Regions from separate parts of the Homo sapiens genome. Here regions 1 and 3 are each linked to region 2. The links are contacts of gene promoters, found by promoter capture Hi-C in blood cells and fetal thymus (Javierre and others, 2016). All regions are on one chromosome and are shown on one strand. Each heading gives the region's core, a stretch centred on a gene start or on the middle of the fragment in contact. The rest is flanking DNA. Distances are from core to core; before and after follow the strand shown.

What was found. The method cuts DNA at HindIII sites, captures the fragments that hold promoters and counts their contacts. A CHiCAGO score of 5 or more calls a contact.
Region 1: a contact is called between the fragment with the promoter of LGALS16 here and the fragment with the promoter of PAK4 in region 2, in 11 of 17 cell types (naive B cells, total B cells, activated CD4 T cells and 8 more). The highest score is 12.5, in naive B cells.
Region 3: a contact is called between a fragment that was not itself captured here and the fragment with the promoter of PAK4 in region 2, in 2 of 17 cell types (naive B cells and total B cells). The highest score is 12.4, in naive B cells.

What each region holds. Positions count from the first base shown.
Region 1 is chr19:39,654,134-39,658,036 of GRCh38, forward strand. It overlaps LGALS16 (galectin 16), which reads left to right and starts at 1,780. Exons shown (of 4, transcript NM_001190441.3): 1 at 1,780-1,843; 2 at 3,750-3,826. The coding sequence starts at 1,829. The HindIII fragment of the contact is 3,782 bases long and covers 1,694-3,903 here.
Region 2 is chr19:39,123,398-39,127,247 of GRCh38, forward strand. It overlaps PAK4 (p21 (RAC1) activated kinase 4), which reads left to right and starts at 2,389. Exons shown (of 10, transcript NM_005884.5): 1 at 2,389-2,522. The HindIII fragment of the contact is 5,933 bases long and covers 1-3,483 here.
Region 3 is chr19:39,677,994-39,681,794 of GRCh38, forward strand. It overlaps the pseudogene LGALS17A. Among named protein-coding and RNA genes, the nearest start is that of LGALS16, 24 kb to the left of the region's middle. RefSeq lists an enhancer at 1-230. The HindIII fragment of the contact is 6,903 bases long and covers 1-3,801 here.

The DNA of each region.
Region 1 (3,903 bases), core at 530-3,029, 530 kb after region 2:
ATGAAAACCCTAGAAGAAAACCTAGGCAATATCATTTAGGATGTAGGCATAGGCAAGGACTTCATGACTAAAACACCAAAAGCAATGGCAACAAAAGCCAAAATTGACAAATGGATCTAATTAAACTAAAGAGCTTCTGCACAGCAAAAGAAACTACCGTCAGAGTGAATAGGCAACCTACAGTATGGGAGAAAATTTTTGCAATCTACCCATTTGACAAAGGGCTAATATCCAGAATCTACAAAGAACTTAAACAAATTTACAAGAAAAAAACAAACAACCCCATCAAAAAGTGGGCAAAGGATATGAACAGACACTTCTCAAAAGAAGACATTTATGCAGCCAACAAACACAGGAAAAAATGCTTATCATCACTGGTCATTAGAGAAATGCAAATCAAAACTACATTGAGATACCATCTCACACCAGTTAGAATGGCGATCATTAAAAAGTCAGGAAACAACAGATGCTGGGGAGGATATGGAGAAATAGGAACGCTTTTACACTGTTGGTGGGAGTGTAAACGAGCTCAACCATTATGGAAGACAGTGTGGCCATTCCTCCAGGATCTAGAACTAGAAATATCATTTGACCCAGCATCCCATTACTGGGTATATACCCAAAGGATTATAAATCATGCTACTATAAAGACACATGCACACGTATGTTTATTGCAGCACTGTTCACAATAGCAAAGACTTGGAACCAAACCAAATCCTTCAATGATAGACTGAATTAAGAAAATGTGGCACATATACACCATGGAATTCTATGCAGCCATAAAAAAGGATGAGTTCATGTCCTTTGCAGGGAGATGGATGAAGCTGGAAACCATCATTCTGAACAAACTATCACTAGCACAGAAAACCAAATACCGCATGTTCTCACTCATAGGTGGGAATTGTACAATGAGAGCACTTGGACACATGGCAGGGAACATCACACATGGGGGACTATCATGGGGTGGGGGGCAGGGGGATGGATAGCATCAGGATAAATAATGTAAATGACGAGTTAATGGGTGCAGCAAACAAACATGGCACATGTATACCTGTGTAACAAACCTGCACATTGTGCACATGTACCCTGGAACTTAAAGTATAATAATAATTTTTTTTAAATCTCACCTTTCTCCCAGAATCTGCAGAAGAAACAGTCTCCCTCAAACTTTGATTTACATGGACACCAACAGAGGGTGTAGCTAGAGCCCAAGTGTGTGACAGTCAGATGAAAGTGGCCCTTACCTAGCAAAGCCAAGTGGCTTAGTGTGGGGCAGGTTCATGCAAGAAATTTCTCTACTTCTCTCTGCAGATCCTCCTCAGGATCAAGGTCAGTGCTCTCCCAGAACATTTAAAGGCAGAGAGAAGAATTACCTTTTAGGGCTAACTTGTTTCCCCCAAAATCTCCAACTTTTTTTTTCTTGTTTAGCCATTGTACAAAATTGGGAAAATGTACACCTTCTGGGTAGATTCTGCATAGTGGAGAAAAGGCTTGAGAGGCACAAAGGCTGGGCTTTACAATCACTACCCCTCACTCCATCATCCTTATCTATGCATTTCCCTGGTAACCCAATCCACAGTCTGGTACCTTCCCCAATGTCATTTCTGCTGCATTACAGACACAGACTTGCAAATAGTTATGGTTGTGACTGAGTTTCTTCGTGACACCTGACCCTTTCTCATGCTGCAAGGAAAGCTTGCTGGGAGGAGCATGGAATCTGGAATGATGCCAGAGGGCAAAGCTGAAAGGGGTCATTTAAGTGCTGCAACTCAGAGATTCACTCAGAAGACTGGACACAATTCCGAAGGTCGCCCAGAAGGAGAGGACAATGTCATTTCTAACTGTGAGTTGAAAAGGCACAGCCTTCAATAATCTCAAGTCACACAAAACCAAGAAAGATGTGGGGTATTTTATGAGATGAAAATATGAGCATTCCTACTGTGAATGCTTTACTGAGAGTTGTGGGTGTGTGGAAGAGAAACACTGAGGCTGGGTATCTGAGATGCTTGTAGCATGTGGGTTGTGGATCCTGGACAAATGTAACCCTCTGTGAGCATGAGGTGGTATCTGATGAGAGTGAACTCTGATGAGATGATGTGACTTTAGGTGGGAGGTGGATGGCACACCAGGTCAAGCAGGTGTTTGTGTGAGTGTAAGGGGGGTGATTGTACTTTGTCTTCCTCTTTGTGATGTGAGTGTGTGTTAGCACAGCCAGACCAGTGCATGGTCATCTTTATGTGCGCAGTGAGCAGGTGTGTGTAACTCAGTGAGTGGCATGGCTCTGTGTGACTGTGGGTGTGTGTGCTGGGATGTGACTGAGTATTGAAGGGAAAACACGCATGTGGCCTTCTGTGCATGTGAAGGTTCCTCCCCACACAACAGCACTTCTGATGAAGGAACTGTGTGTCTTTTCATGTGTGGCAATGTGGATCCCAGGTGGCTTAACTGGTAGGGATCTTGGAGATTGTGAGTTACCAAGGACTTGTTTCAGATCACTTATGAGAGCAGAATGTATGATCAGTAGATGTCTCTTCCCAGTAAGAGTGGGGAAGAGGAATGGAGACTATGGGGGTGATGGATCCTCAGGTGGGGTCTGCACAGAGTGACCACTGTCTCTTGCCTCCCAGGCTCAGCTTCCCTGTCCCCAGCCTATCCTGTCCTTTTCATTGTGGGACAGGAGGTTTGCTAGAGAAGGATATTAGAGGCCATGGTTTCAGAGACTGAATCACGTAAAATATCCACTGTAAGCTATGTCTCAACTGAGTCTAAACTTGTTCCTCCACCCATGAAGGAACAAGTCTAGTCTCAGTTCAGACAGAGCTTACAGTGGATATTAATCAACAAAGCAGCTGGGTTCACTGGCTCACGGCTATAATCCCACCAATCTGAGAGACAAAGATGAGAGGATAACTTGAGGCCAGAAGTTTGAGGCCAGTCTGGGTATCATAGTGAGACCCTTTCTTTAAAAAACTTTAAATATCAGACTGCCAGAGTGGCAGGCACCTTTTGCCCCAGCTACACAAGAGGGGGCAGATGTGTGAGGATCACTGCAGCCCAGGAGTTCAACGTTTCAATGAGCTATGATCGCACCACTGCATGTCAGCCTGGGCAACAGAGCAAGACCCTATCTCAAAAATACAGAAAAATCATCAACCACTTGTAGTCATTGTAGAAATCAATCATTCCCTCCAGTTATGTCCCTGACCCACAGGCTTCACTTGTGCAAGTACTGGGGCTGTGCTGTCAGTAATGTGTGCCACTTCTTGGAAGGACGTCCATTGCCCTTGATGATTGTGAGAGTTGAAAATAAGGCAGATCAGTGTTTCAGGAGGACTCCCCTGTTCTGTTAGGTCACCCCTAACAGGCCCTACACATGCCAGGGATTAGGGTAAAAGTTTTACATGTATTAACTGCTCTATTATGGAGAACTTCCTACACAGTAGGAATTCATGATAATCCTCCTTGTTTTAGGGAAACTGAGGAAGTCAAGTAACCGATCTAAGATTGCACTGCTAGTAAGAGGCAGAATGAGGACTGGAATCCAGGCTTCTTGGCTCCTGAACCCTTGCTCTTACCTATGGGTCCACCATACCTTCAGGAATGTGGGGCCCTGACTGTGGTAGAGTGAATGGGGAGAGTCCACAGAGCCTGCCCTGTGATCTCTAACCTCCTGCACCATGGGAATATGTTACAGGAAGGGAGACTGCACCTGACCCTGCACCTCTCACTTATTCTCAATACCCTGGCAGGTGCCATACAAACTGCCTGTGTCTTTGTCTGTTGGTTCCTGCGTGATAATCAAAGGGACACTGATCGACTCTTCTATGTGAGTACTCCATGGTCCAATGGAGGGGGTGGAGGAGAAAGGAGAATATTTGCTAAGAGTTTGACCTTATGTGTGGG
Region 2 (3,850 bases), core at 1,139-3,638:
CACAACATTCTTTACAAACGTATGTTTCCAATTCTGTCAAAAGAAAAAAGGGGTCAGTCATGGTGGCTCACACCTGCAATCCCAGCACTTTGGGAGGCTAAGGTGAGAGGATTGTTTGAGGCCAGGAGTTCAAGACCAGCCTGGGCAACACAGCGAGACCCCGTCTCTACTAAAAATTAAGAAAATTAGCCAAGCCAGGTGCAGTGGCTCATGCCTGTAATCCAACACTTTGGAAGGCCAAGGCGGACAGATCACTTGAGACCAGGAGTTCGAGACCATCCTGGCCAACATGGGGAAGCCCCGTCTCTACTAAAAATACAAAAATTAGCCGGGCATGGTGGTAGGCGCCCAGGAGTCGTTTGAACTCTGGAGGCGGAGGTTGCAGTGAGCCAAGATCATGCTACTACACTCCAGCCTGGGTGACAAAGTGAGATTCTGTCGAAAGAAAGAGGAAAGAAAGAAGGAAGGAAGGAAGGAAGGAAAGAAAGAGAAAGAAAGAAAGAAAAAGAAAGAAAGAAAGAAAATTAGCCGGTGTGGTGGCTTATGCCTATAGTCCCAGCTACTTGAGAGGCTAGGTTGGAAGGATCACTTGAGCCCAGGAGTTTCAGACTGCAATCCCGCCTGGGCGACAGAGTAAGACCCCTATCTAAAAAAAAAAAAAAAAACAAAAAACAAAACAAACAAAAAAAAAAACGAATGAACAAATAAAAAGAAAAAAGATAGGTAAACATAAAGAAAAATTAACTCATCATTCAATCATTCATTCATTGTTGCCACCGACATTAGTAGAAATTAATTAAATGCCTACTATGTGGCTGTTCTGGGGCAGAGGAGAAGCACCAAACATTTAAGAGTATCTCTGAAGGGGTGGAATTACCACGCATTCAAACAGCCCTTCCACCAATGTTTACTGAGCATCTACATGCCAACAGTGCTGGGGCACTGGGAATGCAGCAGTGAACAAAGACAGAAATCCATGTTGTCATGGGGCTGACATTCCAGCAGAGGAGACAACCAACAAGCAATAACTACAATTAGGAGTGAGAAATAAGAACAAAGCAGACAGAGTTTGGTAGTATGTGAGAGGGATGTTTGCTGCTTTCCTTAGGGTGAGCGAGGGAATTAGTTCACAGAGAAAGTGACATCTGTGTAAAGCCCTGAAAAAAGGGAGGGAGAGATAAGGATACCTGGGGGAAGAGTATGTTCCAGGCAGAGGAACAACCAGTGCAAAGACTGTGAGGTGAGAGCGCACCTGACAAGAGTTCAGGAACAGCATGAAGGCTGGAGTCCAGTGAATAAGATCCAGGAGGAGAGATGTCTGGCCGGGCGCAGTGGCTCACGCCTGCAATCCCAGCACTTTGGGAGGCCGAGGCAGGAGTATAGTTTGAGCCCAGGAGTTCGAGACCAGCCTGGCCAACACAACAAAACTCTCTCTTTAAAAATAAAAGAAAAAGGCCAGCTTGGTGGCTCACACGTGTAATCCCAGCACTCTGGGAGGCCGAGGCGGATAGATCACCTGAGGTCAGGAGTTCGACCTGGCCAACATGGTGAAACGCTGTCTCTACTAAAAATACAAAAAATTAGCTGGGTGTGGTGGTGGACGCCTGTAATTCCAGCTACTCAGGAGGCTGAGGCAGGAGAATCTCTTGAACCCGGGAGGCGGAGGTTGCAGTGAGCTGAGATCGCGCCATTGCACTCCAGCCTGGGCAACAAGAGCGAAACTCTATCTCAAGACAAATAAATAAGTAAAAATAAAATTTAAAAAAATTTTTAAAGAAGATGTCTGCTGTTTGTTTTCAATATTTTGACCAATTACTTCGTAAAAACTTATTTAAAAATTGAAGAGCAAACAGTCTCAGGTTCCCGGGCTCAGACAGACCAGCGTTCAAAACTCATTACCTTCTTTCTATGATGCTAAGCCAGCTATTTCACCCTCTGAACCTCTGTTTCTTTATCTGTAAAATGGGTATTAATGATATTATACCACAGGGTTGTATATGCAGCGAGAAAATGCAAGTAAAACACTTATCCCGGTGCCTGCCTCCTAGTAAGTGCTTAAGAACTGTTTCTGCCCATTAACTCATTACTTTCTCCCAGCCCCTAACTCCTTCTGGGGGGGAAGTTAGAAAATCGGTATCACACGAAAACAGTCATTTCCCCTTTAAGGACCTCAGTGGGCCGGGAGCCAGCCTTCCCGCACCTTTTCCAAAATTTCCAATCCCCGCTTGGCATTTTCTGCCCGAAGGTCTCCGATTGGACGCTCTGTACCAATCGGAGGCTGGAGCGGGCCCTGAGAGGCGCCCGACTCCGCCCCCGCACTGGCCCTGCCCACTGCCCGGTCAGCCTCGTTGCTATGGGGACTGGTGGGCGGTGAGGGGGGAAAGCCCCGGATGTTCGTTGGGGATTCAACATGGCGGCGGGAGTGTCCGCGGTGGTGGCGGTGCAAGAGAGCTGAGGGAGGCGCGAGGGCGCGGAGTTCCAGGTCGAGCAGTTAGGCCGCGAGCGACTGCGGCGCCGAGCCGGTAGGATAAGGGGTCCGGCCAGGGGCTTGCGGTGGGCCGGGCGCTGGCGGCGGGACGGCGTTTCCGCGAGGAGGGGGGCGGGGCCGCCGGGGTCAAAGGTCACTGGTGGAGGGAAGGGTCGCGTCCGAGGGGTCGGGGGTTAACGCAGACTGGAGGGAGTTGTAGTGGAGGTCGGAGATCAAACCAGCGAAGGGGGCGTGGCGAAGGGGAGTGCAAAGTTTGAAATTCGAAGTGGGGGCGCGTTCGAGGGGTTCTGGGCGAGTCTCAAAAAAGGCAGGGTCAAAGTTAATAATTTGAGGGAAGGCTGCCCCCACGAGGGTCAGAGGTCACAGCCCCAGGGGCGCCAGGTTGGAGGTTTAAAGCTGCCCCTAGCGGAGCAGATGAATGAGTTTTAGGTTCGGGGGCGTCTTTTAGGGGTTCAAAGCTGGGGCGTGCCTAGAAGGTACAAAGGTGAGAATCTGACAGCGGGGCAGCTGTTTCCCAGAGTCAAAAATTAAAACCCAAGGAGGGCGTATTGCGGGGGACGGGGGGGGGGGGGGGGGCCGGGTCAGAGATGCTTCCTGGTGACAGGAGAAGGGGGAACCCTCCCACAAATAATAATGGCAAACACTCATGAAACACTATGGGCTAGACCCTCTTTTTAACGCTTTACTTGTATGAGCTTATTCAGTCCTCACTATAGTCTTAGGGGGTCTTAACCTGGTATTAAGAGGTTAAGTGATTTGCACAAGGTCACCCGATGCATAAGTTGTGCGCTGGGATTCTAACTCCGGAGTTCTGGCCCAGAGCCCTGCTCTGGCCGACCGCCTCTCAAATCATCATAATGTCGGTTAATGTTTAATGAGGGCTCACACTGTGCTCCACGCCCTGTGTGCCCGGTCGTATTTCACTCCTGCTGCAATCTTGTGAAGTGAGTGCTCAAGATGAACCTACTTTACAGACGGGAAAAATGAGGCTCAGAAGCTTCTGCTGAAGGCAGAGTTAGAATCGAAGCTGGGCCTGGGTGATTCCAGGGCTCCTGCCCCTGGTCGCCACATTGTCCGCTGCCAGCCATTAGGTCTCTCCTGGAAGCAGGGGGCTGGGCAGGGCTGGGCCACTCCCTGGGCGGATCGGATTGTCTGCTTGGTTTCCTTGGAAGGGTGTGATCTGGCAGGGAAGATTCCTGTGAGCCTATGGGAGTAGGGTGTTTGTAGGTGGTCTGGAGTCCGAGCAAGGGAGTCCGACGGGCTTCTGACTGGGGAGAGTGTCCCTGGGTGGTACCCTGGGCAGAGCGGGGTGTTCACTGTTCTTAAAACCCTAAGCTCTCACTGTGGTCCTTAGTCACTCCC
Region 3 (3,801 bases), core at 205-2,704, 550 kb after region 2:
GCTTTCCTATTTTTGTAGGTGGAAGCAGCTCTAATGGCTTCCATTGCCCTTTCCTACTATCACATTCCTCCCTGCACAGGTCAGACAACCAATGTGGGATTCTGCCATTTGCTGAGTGTGTCCATTCCACTTCTGCAACCTGACACTGAGCAAATAAGCAGAGGATGGATGTGGGGCCAACTGGGCAGTGCCAGGTGCTTCCAGTGCTTTCACTTTCACATAATTCCAGCTGAACTTGGAACCGACTTAAAAACAGGATTTGATTCCCCTTTCACTTCTACTTATGAAGACATCAATAGATTTCCAGGAAATCCCACGTGGAGAGGAAACTGATTTTGTAATTCACTGCTTGAGTCTGATGCATACTCTCTAGTTAGTATTTCAGACACAAATCACAGGAACAATATTTGCTGCTTGAGGAAACAGCTATGAAGACACTGAGAGTAGATACAGAGTGTCTTGCCTGCCCTAGGTGAACTGGCAGGAAATAAGAATCTCTGTGTCCCTGGTTGCTTTAGGAAAGTAGAAACCTATAGAGACTAGGAGAACTTTCTATAGGTGTGAGAAAGTGTGTGAGGAAAAGAGGAGGATAGTGGACAGCATAGAGATTTCTGGACTGAGACGGGATTTCGGGCGTGAATAACTGAGTGAGTAGCAGCGTGGAAGGGGCTGTGTCTGAGCTGAGCAGGGCTGAGTGGGAACTGCGCTCTCTACACTGAAACAGAGTAGGGACCTCATGGGGGCTCCCTTCCCCTATTTGGACTCCAAAGTGCACAGGTGCCTCCGCTCGACCAGGAAAAAGAAGAGGGAAATTCATATGCTCTCTGCCCTCAGTTCAGGAATGGGGGATGAACCATCCCATTTCTGGAAATGTTGAGACCCAGACTTAGCAAAGGCTAATTTGTTGATTTAAAGAGTGCTCATAGATGACCATGCCCTTCTACCATCCTCCTTTCTGACTTAGAATGGGAAAAGTCATGTCATAGAGGAGGAGCTGTGGGCTCAAATAGTGGACAAGGCAGTCAGTACTTTGCAGAGTGTCAATCTTGGTCAGAGATGGATGCAAGGCAAACCCTTTGACCAGGGCACACAATGACATGGCTTCATGAGAAGCATGGAGGCTGAAGTGCACAACTTCCCACCCTCACTCCATCATCCTCATCTGTGCCTTCCCTGGCGATTCCCTGCCCCTTGGTGTGACCCTCCGTGTCGTTTCTGCTGCAGCACAGTCACAGGCCTGAAAACTGAAACTGAGTCTATTTCTGCCACCCCTACTCACGCTGCTGAGAAATCTTCCTGGCAGGGGTTCAGAGAAAGAAATAAAGCCAGAGGGCAGGGCCAAGAGGGACTATTTAAGTGCTGCAAATCAGAGACTCACACAGAAGACCAGATACTATTCTGAAGAACTACACAGAGGGAGACAACAATGTCATCACTAAAAGTAAGTCAAAAGACACAGCCTTTAATAAACTCAATTCACATAAACCAAGAAAGAATCAGGGGTGATTTCACAAGACGAAAGTATGAGAGTTTCTCTTGTGAACACTTTACTGAGAGTTGTGGGTGTGTGAAAGAGAAACCGTGCGGCTATGATATCTGAGATGCTGGTGGAGTGTGGGGTGTGGACTCTGAACCAGTGTAACCGTCTGTGAGTGCATGGTGGTGTCTGATGAGAGTAACCTCTGCTGAGATGATGTGACTTTAGGTGGGAGGTGAACAGCCCACCAGGGTGGGCGGGTGTGTGCCTGAGTGTAAGGGTGTAACTGCGTTTTGTCTTCTTGACTGTGATGTGAGTGTGTGTGTGAGCACAGCTGGACCAGTGTGTGAGCATCTTTATATGCACAGTGAGCAGGTGTGTGAGACTCAGTGAGTGGCATGGCTCTGTGAGACTATGGGTGAGTGTGTGCTGGGATGTGACTGGGTGTTGAACTGGGAGCATGCAAGGGGCCTTCTGTGCATGTAAAGTTTCCTCCCAACACAGCAGCGCCTCTGATGAAGCAGCTGGGCACTTCCCATGTGTCAGTGTGTGTCCCATGTGTGAACAGTGTGGGTGGCAGAACTGGTGCGCCTGTTGTGAGCCATGAGTTATGGAGGAGTCATCTCTGAGCAGAATGCGTGAATCCTCAGGTGCCTCCTCCCAAGCAGAGTGGGGAAAAGGAACACAGACTATGGGGCCGATGGTTCCTCAGGTGGGGTCTGTCCAGAAAGGCCATCTGCTCCTGCCTCCAGCCTCAGGTCTCTCTGTCTCCCAGCCTGTCCATCCCATTGTGGGAGAAGAGGGTGAGCAGATCCTGGCTCACTAGGGAAGGCCTTTGGGGGATGTGGGTTCGGAGACTGAGTCGCCCAAAATAGAGAAGGAATCAGTTTATTCTTAGTTCATACAGAGCTTACAGTGCATATTAATCAATAACTTGCCAGGGTTTGTGGCTCATGCCTGTGATCCCAGTGGTTTGGGAGGCCAAGGTGGAAGGATCGCTTAAGGTGAGGAGTTTCAGACCAGCCTGGGCAACGTAGTGAGACCCTGTCTGTACCCAGAATTTAAAGATTATCCAAGCATGTTGGTGTGCACCTTCATTCACAACTACTCAGGAGGTTTTGGCAGGCGGATCACTTGAGTCCAGGAGTTTGAGGCCACAGTGAGCTGTGACCATGCCACTGCAATCCAGGCTGGGCAACAGAGTAAGATCCTGTATCAAAAAGACCCCAAACCCCAACACCAAACAGAGAAATGAAAATCAAACAATATTTAGATTACCTCCAATGACTTCCCTGGCCCACACTCTTCATGTGTGCAGGTACTGGGGCTGTGCTGCCAGCAAGGTGTCCCCTTCTGGAAAGGACGTCCATGGCCCTTGATGATTGTGATGCACACGGGGGTTTCCAGTTCTTTTAGCATTTCTCTCTCTCTTTCAACAAGTGTTGTTTCTCACTGGAGTGAATCTCTCTACTCTTACATCCTCACATCTTGTTTTCACAGCTTCAGTGTTGAAAATAATCACAGGTCGGTGTTCCAGAAGCAACCTCCCTGTTCTAATGGGTAACCCCCAACAGGCTTCATGCATGGCAGAGATTAGGGCAAAACTTTCACATATATTAATTCATATATTACTGGAAAAACCCTACAAAGCAGAAATTTCTGCTTATCCTCCTTGTCCTGGGGAAACTGAGGCAGGGAGCGTTCAAGTAATGGATCTAAGATTGCACTGCTAGTAAGAGGCAGAATGAGGACTGGAACCAAGGCAGCATGGATCCTGAACCATTGCTCTCATGTATGGGTCACTAATTTCTTCAGGAATATGCCGCCCTGACCGCTACGGTGGGAGGGAGGAGGCTCACAGTTTGCCCTTTGACCTCTAGCCTCCTGCACCATAGGAATCTGTTACGGGGGGGAGGCCACACCTGGTCCTGCCCCTCCCACCCACTTTCAATCCCCTGGCAGGTACCACACACACGGCCTGTGTCCTTGTCTACTGGTTCTTGTGTGATAATCACAGGGACACCGATCATCCCTTTCGTGTGAGTACTCCATGGTCCATGGCAGGGGGAGGAGACGAAAGAACATTTGCTAAAGGGCTGACCTCCTGTGTGAGTGATGTGAAAATGTCTAGTTGGCAGGATGGCAGCACCATGCAGGTGCAGGTCCTGGAGACCCTGCAACACCTGGCATGAAACCTGCAGTGGCCGCACTGTGAGCTAGTCATGGGGCCTAGGGGAGGAGGACACTCAGGGCATTGGGACTGTGGCTCTTTATCAAGAGGCATAGAATGTTCAGGAAATTGACAACTCATAGGCCTAGGTCAG